Linked DNA regions of Homo sapiens: region 2 is linked to region 1. Evidence: promoter capture Hi-C in 16 types of primary human blood cells and fetal thymus (Javierre and others, 2016). All regions are on one chromosome and are shown on one strand. The core of a region is centred on a gene start or on the middle of the fragment in contact, and the rest is flanking DNA. Distances in the headings are between cores, read along the strand shown. Region 1 holds the start of RFX3 (regulatory factor X3). Region 2 overlaps INCR1 (interferon stimulated noncoding RNA 1).

Evidence for each region. Contacts are between HindIII fragments. The CHiCAGO score rates a contact against its expected background, and 5 or more counts as called.
Region 2: a contact is called between a fragment that was not itself captured here and the fragment with the promoter of RFX3 in region 1, in 2 of 17 cell types (fetal thymus and naive CD4 T cells). The highest score is 11.9, in fetal thymus.

What each region holds. Positions count from the first base shown.
Region 1 is chr9:3,522,965-3,529,833 of GRCh38, reverse strand. It overlaps RFX3 (regulatory factor X3), which reads left to right and starts at 3,833. Exons shown (of 17, transcript NM_001282116.2): 1 at 3,833-4,087. It overlaps LOC124902110 (a long non-coding RNA gene), which reads right to left and starts at 3,349. Exons shown (of 8, transcript XR_007061398.1): 1 at 3,057-3,349. RefSeq lists enhancers at 2,889-3,188, 3,449-3,498, 4,076-4,692 and silencers at 3,679-3,868, 4,299-4,388. The HindIII fragment of the contact is 14,491 bases long and covers 1-5,211 here.
Region 2 is chr9:5,622,353-5,629,221 of GRCh38, reverse strand. The region is part of intron 1 of INCR1 (interferon stimulated noncoding RNA 1); the gene reads left to right. RIC1 (RIC1 partner of RAB6A GEF complex) reads right to left here and starts at 115. Exons shown (of 26, transcript NM_020829.4): 1 at 1-115. RefSeq lists a silencer at 1-355 and an enhancer at 1,706-1,925. The HindIII fragment of the contact is 1,557 bases long and covers 2,134-3,690 here.

The DNA.
Region 1 (6,869 bases), core at 2,584-5,083:
ACAGAATTTCAGATCTAGTAAAGGGAATTAGCAATCGAGTAATAAAATTATCCAGTATTCCACATAAGTGCTCAATAAATATTGGTACAAATGAAACCATTCATTTTATATAAGAGAACCCAAGACTCTACATCTCTCTCTCAATTGAAGAAAATAGGATATAATCAAATGAAAAAATTTAAAACAGGTGTGATTTCTCTCATAAAAAGATTCACCACAAATTCAACAATAAGGTGCCACAGCATACATTACTTTTCAAACTCTCATACTATTTTTCAGAAGCAAGCCTATCACATAGCACTATTTTATCTTTTCATATGCATCCTTTCTTTTTTAAAGTATAATAATGAAATAACTTATTAGTCCTTGAATATGGAGTAGATATGAATAGGCAAAAACACTCTAATAGATAATACAGAAATCTACCACTACGAATGTGTTAAAGTAACTTATGAAATACACAATCTATATATATCATCAGGGCTTCAGATTTTTCTTCAAGTAGTTCAGATACAAATGTGTTATTCCATGTCTCTTCCAATCATTCTGATCGGAGAGAAAAAAACAATCCAAGTTAAAACACAACATTCTAAATTAATAGATAATGTTGAACATTTTACATTCAGGAACTATGTCTGCCCAATTTTAGCTTGGTTATGTACCTTTTTTTATTGATCACACAGTGTGTTTTGCACTATAATAGGTGATAACTGTTAGAGTGGTCCAATACTGGGTCTTTTCTGTGACTTCTTAGCAAATAATTTATTTCTGAAACATACATGCAACATATGTGAAGATGCATCTATGCAGCTTTAAAAAATGGCTAAAAAAAATCCTACAAGCAATAACTATGGGTTAAAAGGTTTCTGGGTTCTTTTGTAACTAATTACAGTATTAAACAATACATGCATATAAAATCCGTATTTTCGATTCTATAGCTTGAACTGGTATCTTGGTCATCTGATTCAGTGTGGTGGTGTATTTGTACCTTTTCACACTGCTATAAAGAACTGCCGGAGACTGGGTAATTTATGAAGAAAAGAGGTTTAACTGACTCACAGTTCTGCAGGCTTAACAGGAAGCATGACTGGGAGGTCTCACGGAAACTTACCATTATGGCGGAAGGCGAAGGGTACAAGGACTTTCTTCACATTGTGGCAGGTGAGAGAGGGGTAGTGGTAAATATTTTTAAACAAGCAGATCTCGTGAGAAGTCACTCTTGAAACAGCACTAGTGGGATGGTGCTAAACCATCAGAAACTGCCCCCAGGATCCAATCATCTCCCACAGGGCCCCTCCTTCAACACTTTCGGATTACGATTTCACATGAGAGTTGGGTGGGGACACAAAGCCAAACCCTATCAGGCAGTAACACTAACATTTCAAATATTAACCTCAATATGGTTAGAATTGTATCATCATCAAGTATCCTAAAACATGGGAAAATATTCTAAATTCTAAATTTTCAAGAATTAACTTCAGGAAATTTATCTATTCCTAACTCTGGAAAAGACCAAATCTGTAAGGCAAAAAAAAAAAAAAAAAAAAAAAAAAAAAATTTAAGCAGCTTAAAACTGATTCTATAATGTCCTAGCACAAGGGTTGCACTTATTTTTTAATAGTCCCTCGAAGTACCTATTTATACTCTTGAGATACAGTTTTGCACAAGGTTCACTATGTGGTTTTCTTGCCTGCAGATTAAGAGCAATAAATTAAAAGGGCGGTAAGGATAATAGAACTATGTTCACTGACAAAAATAAAAAGCAACAGCTGACAATGAAAGACGGGACAGGCAAACTATAACAGACAATGGAATTTAAAAAAACAAAGCTATTCAGAGAGCCATGTAGTGTGAACATACAGCCCTACACACCATTATAGGAATGAGGACTTTATCAGTAAATATAATAAAGAGAATATTCATAACGACTACCAGTTTTCATAAAGCTGGAACGTATACCTCATTTCCCATCTGTATGTCAAATGGGACCCACACTGGTCACCACACAATCATTTGTCTGACTAGAAGCCCTTACTACCACAGTGGGTCAGGAAACCTTTTAGCTTTAGCACTAGGCTCACCACTGTTCACTACTGCAACACATTATTATTGTAAGAACATCTCTAACTCATGAGATTATCAAAGGCAACAATATTACTTTTAAAAACGTACCCAAAGTAGCTGGTTCCTAAAACAAGGTAACCTTGTATTCTATGGCACGCAGCCATAAACTAAAACCACCGACTTTTAGGACTCTCGGCCTGTTTTTCCTCAAATGCGAATATTACCTAACACTGGTGTTGTTGGGATTACATGAGATAATGTATGTAAAACACTTAGCACCAGTTCTGGGACACAGAATGAGCTCAGTATTATTTTAGCGCTGGTGAACGCATGCCGGCCCAAATCCCTTACTTGCAGGTGCAAAAATTAAGCCTCAAGAGGAGAACTGACTTCCTAAGGCTCTACTTCTACTATGTCATTGTCCTGGTTAAGCAGCTTAGCGGCAAATGTTGGGAGATTTTGGGTATTGGCAGGGCCTGGGGGCATGTGCCTGCTGGACTCGAGTCTGCAGAGAATTGGAGGAGTCTGTTTGAACCATGAGGCATTACAGGCTGTGCCTTATCAACGGGTGTTTGAGATGGCAGGTTGTGTTAACAACATTCAACACAGACGGAAGCCATTCGTCTATCTCAATACAGCCACAAACAGCAAGACCCTCAGCTACAGTAGGCTGAGTAACGGGGGATGAGAGCACGGCAGGTAACAGGATCCGGGCTTGAGCTCAACTCCCAGTTCGGTCTTTAAAGAGGGGTGAGCACTTAAGGGCTGAAACTAACAGAACTAGAAACTAACAGGATGGTATCGCAGGCAGGTGTAAGCTACCCCGCCCCTCTACGCCTTCCGTCGAGGGGAACCGCCAAATGCGCTTTCTCAGCCTCCGGGCAGGGCAATTTCTTGCTCTCTACAGGCACTTACTCCCATCCCTTGTAGATAGGGAGTGATGACCTCGCTTTTTCGTTATGGAGTGAGGGCCGGACACGCTTGGACCTCACCTCTCCGCGCCACGCTGCGGCGGCACCGCGGGAGGCCGACTCGCGCCCACGCACACCCCACGCTCGCCTTCTCTAAGATGGCGGCAGAGGCAGCTCGCTCACGCCCCGCCGCCCGCGCTCCTCCACAAGTCGTGCCCTCAGGAGGCGGGAGCGGGTGAGAGCGCGGAAAGCAGGAGGGCGAGAGTGACGCGGACCCTCCAGTCTAGCGCAGGCCGCGGAGCCCTGAAGCGTCCAGGAAAAGGAAAAGCCAGGAGGCTGACGCTACCAGGAACACCGCCGGCGCCTCAGAAACTAAAAAGCGGCGGCACATCCGGGCCCCTCTGCCCGCCCCGCCCCGGAAGTAACGTATCGGGCAGGGCGGGGGCCGCTCTTCAAAGTGGATTCTTCCCTCGCCATAGCTCGTTTCTTCACAAAGTGCCTGGAATCACCCTCGCCACCCCCTCCCCCGGGTTAGCCGTTACTCTCTCGTGGCTCCGGGACGTCTCTGTACAAAGCTGGCTGCTGGGACAGGCAGCCCTCGTTTCACAGATAGTACCCCTCGCACCACGACTCCTGGGCCTCGCCAGCGCGTGTAGTAACGTCCCTCCGAGAGGACTCTTGGTGACCTCAGCCCCAGCCAAGCATAGGCGCACCTCTTCGGAGTCCTGCGGTGGAATCCCGGCCTCGTGCCCCGTCACCCCGCCGCCCCGCCACCCCACCCGGGTTTGGGGGCCGTCAGTCACAGCGCTGCGCCCTCCCCTTCCGGCGGCTTGGCCGGGCCCGCCTCCTCCCCTCTTCCCTCCCCCACCCCTCCCCGTGCGAGTGTCTCCCTCTCCCTCTCGCTCTCTCTCTCTCTCCCTCTCTCTCTCTCTTTTGTGAGTTATAGCAACCGTTGCCTTGTGAATCAAGCGCCATAGTCACCGTAGTCCTGGCGACTGTTACCCATCAACAACAACTACTCCTCTCCTCCTCCTCCTCCTCTTCCTCCTCCTCCTCCCCACCACCACCATCTCCATCACCCACCAACAACACCACAATAATCCACAGCCAAGGTGAATATTCTTCGGTCTCTACATGTGTGTGGGAGCGTGTGGCTGCGTGTGAACGCGTGTGTCCGTGCGTGTGTGTGTTCGTGTGTGCGAGCCGAGTGTGGCTGTGCTGGGGTCTCACTCCTGACACGGGGGCTGCCGCTGCGGCGCCGCCGCCGAGGGGCTCTGTTCCCCGGGCTTGTTTACAATGGACCCTGCGCGCCGCGGCTGGGTCGGGGGTGTGGGCGCCGCGCCGCCCGCCGGCCCCGGCCCTGCGCCGGCCGCACTTCAGGGATGGAGCGGGAGCTTGGGGGGCTGCGAGCCGAGCGGGAGAGGGAGCCACAGTTTTCCGATGCGGATGCTGGATCTTTCCCTTAGGTCTGGTCTGAGGAGGAGGGTCAGGTGAAGAGATAAGAATTTGTTCTTTCTTTAATTTTCTTCTTTTCCAACGCTGCTGTTTCCTGCTTCTTTCAAAGCCGAAATAGACAACAGTGTGCAAGGGGGGGACCCAAGAGGTGGTGTTTTGTTGTTGTTGTTGTTCACTTGTGGGGCCTTGTTATGGGTTTTGTTATTTTTAATCCTCATACGTTGGTGAACTTTTCCCACCGCCCATTCCCTTCATTTTTGCCCCTCTTTGCCTGGTGCTGAATGGGCTGCTCTTCTTTCACCATCATCAGCTTCATGGTTTTCTTTTTTCTTTTTAAAACTGTATTTTCTTTGTGCGGCAAACAGTCTTAACATCCATTCAGCACTCTTCCCTCCCCCTCTTTCTCCCCCCCCCCACACACCCCTTGCACACATATTGAAACCTGGGGCCTGTTCGTTGGGCCCTCTTTGCTGTACTGGGAAAGATGTTTTTCTTTTTTAAAGTCTGTCTCCTCTCTCTTCTTTGGTGTGTGTGTGTGTGTGTGTGTGTGTGTGTGTGTGTGTGTGTGTGTGTGTGCTTGTGATTTAAACCGGATGCAGGGCATCTGTGATACTTGGGTTAGTAGTTATTGACAGTGCTTTATCCTTCATGTGGAGGTGGGAGGGGGAGTAGTGAGGTTCCGTTTCACTTTGATGATCCTCCTTCCCCGCAGTAGAGTGTTAACAATTTTCATTGTGATTATGAGACTTTGTGATGAACAGGGAAGGGACACAAGGAAGCTTTGTGAGAACTCAGTTCACAGTGTTATTTGTGACAGTTATGGTACTTTAAGAGTTTTTTTTTTTTTAATCTCCTCATTTTCCTTTGAGAGTTGAAATTCAAGTCAAGTTCATAAAGAATGTATGAAGGTTCTCAACTTGAAACGTGTGTATATTTCACTTTCTTTCTGGTTAAGATCTAGGCATGTGTGTACTTAACATATTCTTTTTATTTACTTTTTGATTTTCTTTGGACAGTGACTTGAACCTGCTCAGGAGAGAGAACTTTTTCCTTTTTAAGTATTTCTTTTAAAAATTATTTTTCTCTGTAGATTTGAATACTTATTAGTCCTTATATAGTAGGTTCTTGGTTAACGTTAACCCAGTTTTACAGATCCCCTAAATTTGTTCATTTTTTTCAGCTTAACTTTTAGTTAATAGATTTATCAGTAGAGTTTTGATAATGAATGTGTGCTAAAACAAATATAATGTACTATTGTAGTTGCACATATTGAAGTTTTAAATTTACAGTTTTAAAATGCTTATTCAAATAGTCTTCTTTCTAACAGCAAACATATATTGATTTAACTGACACAGCAGCTTGTGAATAATGTGACAGTACTAATTATTCTTGAGATTGTCAACGAGCAGGGTGGGTAATTATAATGCTATTAAGGCTAATATTTTGTAAAATAAGAGTTGGGATTTTAAAAAAACTTTTTCAATTCATTTCCTTGTGATTGCTATTTTAAATGAAGACGATATTTTGTTCTGAAAGAAGTCTTTCTCAGAGCACTCAGATTTGTTTATAATTATTCCTCCTCTCCCCAAACTGGGTTCCATGCAAATCTCTAATACTAACTTGTATTTTTTTTTCTGTTCAGATGAGTGTCAAATGCCTGAACACTTTTGGATGGTGAAGCTCCTGGGTCCTATAAACTCTCTCTGAAGTTAATAGGAGTTTTGCTGTCTTGGGACAGTTTCAGACCTTATGCCATTTACATAATAGGTTTTCAGTTAAGTAAATTATATACTATAATGTTATGGTTTAATATTTTATTTACAGTGTCTGAGAACTTTTTTTGAGGCATTTCACTCATGTATAGCTCAGGTTTTCTGTGATTTAGATTTTCATTCACAAGTTGATTTGAGAGCAGAACTTAAATTGAATTTCATTACTTTTCCATTTTTTGAAGCATATATGTGGGATAAAATTGCTATTAGAGCTGCTGTGGAATTGATTAAATAATCAGAAACACTGAGAAATGGTAAATTTAAAAATTAAACACAAGGATAGATACTTAGCATTTACTTTATTCTTTCTTAATATTTTTCCTAGAAGGGACTATGTTATGTATTGATACTCTCTTGTGTTTTCAGTTTTTATACTAATAGAAATTTGTAAAAGTGATCATGCTTTGAAACTAAAACTATTAAATAGAAGTCACTTGTAACTTGTTTTGAATAGTCAAATGTCTGTGATTCAATGTATGTCATAATGCCTAACTCAGTCGTTTTGGTGTGTTTTGCCTATGAATTGTATTAAATGGTGTAGGCATCATACATATACACATATATGGCAAACTAATGAATTTCTAGAAGTTTTGCATCGTTTCACAATGTTTTCATTAAAGGTTGTAGTGATGGTTAGTTTTTTTTGTATTATTCCTCCAGTACTCAA
Region 2 (6,869 bases), core at 1,663-4,162, 2.1 Mb before region 1:
CCGAGTCGGCGGCGGCGGCGGCGGCAGCTCGGGGCATCTGCCCGCTGGCCTGGCCGGGCCGGGCCGACGCAAGGCTGCGCGACGAAGGCACCCCCAAGCTGACGGGGCCGAGTGTGGGGGAGGGAAGGGGAGGGAGAGTAGGGACACAGAGAGGGCGGGAGGAGCGCGGAGGCCCGCCCCGACCCCGCCCCTTCCTCAGGCCGCGCGGGCGTCACCACGCCGCGCCGCGTGGGTCGGGCCGGGGAGGGCCCGCGCGCGCGCTCTGGAGACTCCTGCGGTCTCCCTAGCTGTTTCTTGAAGCTCTGCATAAGCCTCGCCCGCGGCCGCCGGGTTGCGTCCGCACTTCTGCGCGCTGGCCCCTCCCTTGCTCCTCTCCCTAGCAGTCTCCAGGGTTTTACCGGGAGGACCTAGGCAACGGCCTGAGACTCCGAGGCAAGTGGGGCGAGTCTAGGGATAACGCAGCAGCAAGGCTACTGGGCCGGTGGAACACGCCCTGGCCTGGCCAAATTGGACCTCCCTTCCGGATTGGCGGGGTCTCGGTGGGGGCGGGCCGGTTGCCGGGGGGAGCTGGAGTCACGTGACGGCCGGCGCGGTTTCCCACTTTGGGCTGCCGGCCGCTGTGGCTGTGGTGGGCGGTAGGGGCTTTTACCGTGTGAGCTCCTTTAATGCCGGGGTCTGCAGTGAGAGCTGGTGATGAAGCTCCTGCCGGTGTGGAGCTTACATCCCTAAGGGAGCGTTTATTTAATCAGTAAATAAACCACTCACCATGAAAGTATTGAGTTCTGTCTCCTGCCTTTCAGGAGTTCTAAATCTATGTCTTTGAAATCCATTTCCATTCGTCTCAGCCTTACCAGCCATAACTTTAGATGAGAGGAGGCTATCTCTTTCGTGCTGCAAAAGGCTTGGACTTAGTTTTAGAACTGGAAGGGACTGGTGATAGCGTAGGTCCATATTTAGCTTTTGGACCCCAGGTATCACCTTAGCTGTAACTTTCAACGGATTGACCCAGTGGTAACGTCTGAATAGAAGGAGGGTTGAGGGGATATGGTGTGGAATGGGGGAAGGAGGAGTCTGAAATAGAAGAAAGATTTGCTTCTCATTGTCTACCTTTTTTAGTACAGTTTGAATTTTTCCATATGTTTGTATTACTTTTTCAATTAAAAAGCCAGGTTTAAAAAATGACCCCACATTAAAAAGTAGCAACGTAGGCGGGGTGCTGGGGCTCACGCCTGTAATCCCAGCATTTTGGGAGGCCGAGGCGGGCAGATCACTTTAGGTAAGCAGTTCGAGACCAGCCTGGCCAACATCGTGAAACCCCCGTCTTACTGAAAATACAAAAATTAGCTGGGCGTGGTGGCAGGTGCCTGTAATCCCAGTTCCTCAGGAGGCTAAGGCAGGAGAATCGCTTGAACCTGGGAGGCGGAAGTTGCAGCAAACCAAGATCCCTCCACTGCACTCCAGCCTGGGCAACAGAGTGAGACTGTCTCAAAAAAAAAAAAAAAAGTAGCAACATAAACAGAAAAAAGGAAACAAAGAAACTTAATTCATATTAGATATAGCATTGTAGCTGGTATTCATAACCAAATATGTAACTTTCTGTAATTTTTCTAAACATTCACTGCATTCCCTGGAAGGTGATGATAGAATCCTGTATTCCTCAAATGGAGGTTGAAACTGCCTCACCACTCACCAGCCTGTTGCGATCAGATTGTCTCCTTGGCGTCTACCCTCCCCCAGTCCAACACAGCAGCCTGGAACATAGTAAGCATAGTAAGCTGGCAGTATTTGTCAGACAAACCGTGGAGGAAACCCTGATCCAGCTGAGCTACACCATTAGACAAAGAGGCCCAGAGAGGTTTCTTAACTTGCCAATTTCAAATTGTAGAATAACAAAGTTGCATCATACTTTCATCTTAGATTCAGTTATGCACTTGGCAGAAAGAGGAAATGAAAATGTTCTAGTGCAGCAATTTTGCTGGCAGTGTTACTGAATGTTTGTCCCAGCTGTCTCTCAGAGAGTCTTTGTTCTCATGTGTCTCAAGTTTGTCATACTGTGCTCATGGGCAATTTAAGGAACTTCTAAGCAATTTTTATTGCACTCAATTTTAACCTTACTTGCTGACTTTAGAAGCTTATTCCTCTGCCACACTCCTGTGTAGCACTTAAGATTCACAAAATAATTCCAAATGCTTGTCTTGATTTAATTCATAGTAAACATTCAAGGTGAGTGACATTGGTGTGATGTTGTTATTCTCACTTTCTCAAGTGAGGAAACAGGACAGGTGTGGTAGATGTGCCTGAATTCACATGGCCTGAAAAGAACTGATGTTCTTTCTACAGATCCAGTGTGATTTCTTTCTTTTTTTTTTTTTTTGAGGTGGAGTTTCGCTCTTGTTGCCCAGGCTGGCGTGCAATGGTGCCATCTCAGCTCACTGCAGCCTCCACCTCCTGGGTTCAAGCAATTCTCCTGCCTCAGCCTCTGGAGTAGTTGGGATTACAGGCATGCACCAACATGCCTGGCTAATTTTGTATTTTTAGTAGAGACGAGGTTTCTCCATGTTGGTCAGGCTGATCTGGAACTCCCGACCTCAGGTGATCCGCTCACCTCGGCCTCCCAAAGTGCTGGGATTACAGGCGTGAGCCACCGCACCCAGCCTCCTGTGTGATTTTTTTAAAAATTTAAGGTTTGGCTGGGCGCGGTGGCTCATGCCTGTAATCCCAAAACTTTGGGAAGCCAAGGCAGGCGGATCATGAGGTCGGGAGTTTGAGACCAGCCTGGCCAATATGGTGAAACCCTGTCTTTCTGCTAAAAAAAAAAAAATACAAAAATTAGCCAGGCATGGTGATATGCACCTGTCATCCCAGCTACTCTGGAGGATAAGGCAGGAGAATTGCTTGAACCTGGGAGGCAGAGGTTGCGGTGAGCCGAGATCGCTCCACTGCACTCCAGGCTGGGTAACAGAGTGAGACTTTGTCTCAAAAAAAAAAAAAAAAATTAAGGCTTATGGCATCCCTGCATCAAGTAAGTCTATTGTTGCTGTTTTTCCAACAGCATATGCTCTTTAGGCTGAACTAAATTGTGGTAATTGCTCTGGACAGTGAGAGGGAGTGGGGGAAACCTCTAGGTCTTTCTCCCTGGCGGGGAGAAAAGGAAATATCTGACTCTCCAAAACCCTATACTTGAGAGTTCCCCTATTGTGACAAAAATGTTATTGGCTGGATTTTTCAACATCATTTCTTTTTCTTTCTTTCTTTTTTTTTTTTTTTTTGAGACAGAGCATTGCTTTGTCACCCAGGCTGGAGTGCAGTGGTGCAATCTTGGCTCACTGCAACCTCCGCCTCCCGGGTTCAAGTGATTCTTGTGCCTCAGCCTCCTGAGTAGCTGGGACTACAGGCATGCACCACCACGCCTGTCTAGTTTTTGTATTTTTAGTAGAGATGGGGTTTCATCATGTGCCAGGCTAGTCTCCAACTCCTAGCCTCAAATGATCCACCAGCCTCGGCCTCCCAAAGTGCTGGGATAACAGGTGTGAACCGCCGTGCCTGGCTTCAACTTTCAAATATCATATTTTAACTTTATTTTGTAAAATATACTGACAGTTCTCATGCCTTAGGTCTTCTCCTCCTTTTTCTACTAGTTTCCACCACCACTCCTGTCAAAATTTTTGGACTCTGTTCTAAGATTAAGCTTATGATAAAAGTTAGTAGGGGGCCGGGCAGGGTAATCACGCCTGTAATCCCAGCACTTTCGGAGGCAGAGGTGGGCGGATCACTTGAGCCCGGGAGTTTGAGACCAGCCTGGGCAACATGGTGAAACCCTGTCTCTACAAAAAATCAGTCGGCACTGTGGCATACACCTGTGGTCCCAGCCCCTTAGGCGGCTAAGGCAGGAGAATTGCTTGAGCCTGGGAGGCAGAGGTAATAGTGAGCCAAGATCATGCTATTGCACTCCCACCTGAGTGAAAGGAATGAAATCCTGTCTCAAAAAAAAAAAAAAAAGTTACTAGGTGCATGTTTTCATCTATGAAACTTATAAACTTTTTAAATTACTAGAAATAATGTTGGTAAGAGTACACATAAGAAATGGGGATACATTTATACTCTCTTGATGGAAGTATGATTTGGTGCAATTTTTTTTTTTAATATAAGGTTTGTGGTAACCCTGTGTTGAGTGAGTCTATTGGCACCATTTTTTCTAATAGCATATGCTCACTTCATGGCTCTTATCACATTTTGGTAATTCTTTCAATATTTGAAACTTTTTCATTATTAGTATATCTGTTATGATGATTTGTGGTCAGTGGTCTTTGTTGTAACTATTGTAATTGTTTTGGGGTGTCATGTACCACATCCATGTAAGATGGAGAACTTAAGCGATAAATGTTATGTGTGTTCTGACTGTTCCATCAACTGGCAGTTCCTCTGTCTCTCTCCCTTTCTTTGGGCCTCCCTATCCCCTGAGATGCAACAATATTGAAATTAGGCCTGTTAGTAACCCAACAGTAGCCTCTAAGTGTTCAAGTGAAAGAAAGAATCCCCGTCTCTCACTTTAAGTAAAAAGCTAGAAATGATTAAACTAAGTGAGGAAGGCATATTGAAAGCAAAGATAGGCCAAAAGCTAGGCCTCTTGTACCAGTTAGCCAAGTTATGAATGCAAAGGAAAAAAAGTTCTTAAAGGAAAGTAAAAGTACCACTTTGGAGAACATAGGAATGATAAAACAAAACAGCCTTGTTGCTGACCTGGAGAAAGTTTTAATGGTCTGGGTAGGAGATCAAGCAAGCTACAACATTCCCTTAAACCAGACGCAGTGCCTCATGCCTTAATCCCAGCACTGTGGGAGGCTGAGACAGGAGGATTACTTGAGCCTAAGACTTCGAGACCAGCCTGAGCAATATAGCAAGACCCCATTTCTTTAAAAAAAAATGTTTTAATTAGCTGGGTATGATGGTGTGCACCTGTAGTCCTAGCTACTTGGGAGGCTGAGACGGGGATCACTTGAGCCTGGGAGTTCCAGATTACAATGAGCTATCTGCGCCACTGCACTCTAGCCTGGGTGATAGAGTGAGACCCTGTCTCTAAAATGAAGCAAAAACCAGTTTTTAAAAAGCATTCCCTTAAGCCAAAGCCTAGGCCAGAGCAGTGCCCTAGCTCTCTTCAATTCTGTGAAGCCTAAGGGAGGCAAGGAAACTGCAGAAGAAACATTTGAAGCTAGCAGAGGTTGGTTCATGAGGTTTACCAAAAGAAGCTGTGTCCATAACATGAAACTGCAAGGTGAAGTAGCAAGTACTGACGTAGAAGCTACAGCAAGTTATCCAGAAGATCTAGCTAAGATCTTTGATAAAGGTGGCTACATTAAACAACAGATCTTCAGTGTAGACAAAACAGCCATCTGTTGGAATAAGATGCCATCTAGGACTTCCATAGTTAGGAAAAGTCAGTGCTTGGCTTCCAAGCTTCAAAGGACAGGCTGACTCCCTTGTTAGCGGCTAATAATGCTGGTGGCTTTTTTGGTGGAAGCCAGTGCTCATTTACCACTCCTAGAATCCTAAGGCCCTTAAGAATTATGTCAAGTCTACTCTGCCTGTGCTCTATAAATGGAACAGCAAAGCATGGATGATAGCACATCCGTTTCCAGTATGATTTATTGAATATTTTAAGCTCTTGTTGAGAACTACTACTTGGAATGAAAGAGTCATTTCAAACTTTCACTGTTCATGGATAGCACATCTAGCCATCTTAGAGTATTTATGGAGACATACAAGGAGATTAATGCTGTTTCCTTGCCTGCTAATGCAGTATCCATTCTGTAGCCCATGGACCAAGGAGTAATTTTGGCTTTTAAGTCTTATTATTTAAGGAATATATTTCATAAGGCTACAGCTGCTATGAAATGCAGCTATACATAGTGAATCTGCTATACATAGTTCAAACTTTCACTGTTCACGGACAGTGCATCTAGCCATCCTAGAATTCTGATGGAGACATACAAGGAGATTAATGCTGTTTCCTTGCCTGCTAATGCAATATCCATTCTGTAGCTGTGGACCAAGGAATAATTTTGACTTTTAAGTCTTATTATTTAAGAAATACATTTCATAAGGCTAGAGCTGCTATGAAATGCAGCTATACATAGTGGATCTGCTATACACAGTGATTCCTCTGATGGATCTGAGCAAAGTGAATCTAAAACCTTCTGGAAAGGGGCCAGGTGCGGTGGCTCACACCTGTAATCCCAGCACTTTGGGAGGCCAAGGCAGGCAGATCACAAGGTCAAGAGATCGAGACCATCCTAGCCAACATGGTGAAACCCCGTATCTACTAAAAAAATAATAATTAGCTGGGCATGGTGGCACCCGCCTGTAGTCCCAGCTACTCGGGAGGCTGAGGCAGGAGAATTGCTTGAACCTGCGAGGCGGAGGTTGCAGTGAGCCGAGATCGCGCTACTGCACTCCAGCCTGGCGACCGAGGAAGACTCCATGTCAAAAAAAAAAAAAAAACTTGGAACAGTCACTACAGCCTTCAGCAACCACCACCCTGATCAGTCAGCAGCCATCAACATGGGACAAGACCCTCCAGCAGCAAAGAGATTACTATTTGCTGGAAGCTCTGAAGATCATTAGCATTTTGTTAGCAATAATATATATATTTTGAGATGGAGTCTCGCTCTGTCACCCAGGCTGGAGTACAGTGGTACAATCTCGGCTGACTGCAACCTCCGCCTCCCAGGTTCAAGCGATTCTCCTGCCTCAGCCTCCCGAGTAGCTGGGATTACAGGCGTGTGCCACCATGCCTGGCTAATTTTTGTATTTTTAGTAGAGATGGAGTTTCCCCATGTTGGCCAGGCTAGTCTTGAACTCCTGACCTCAGG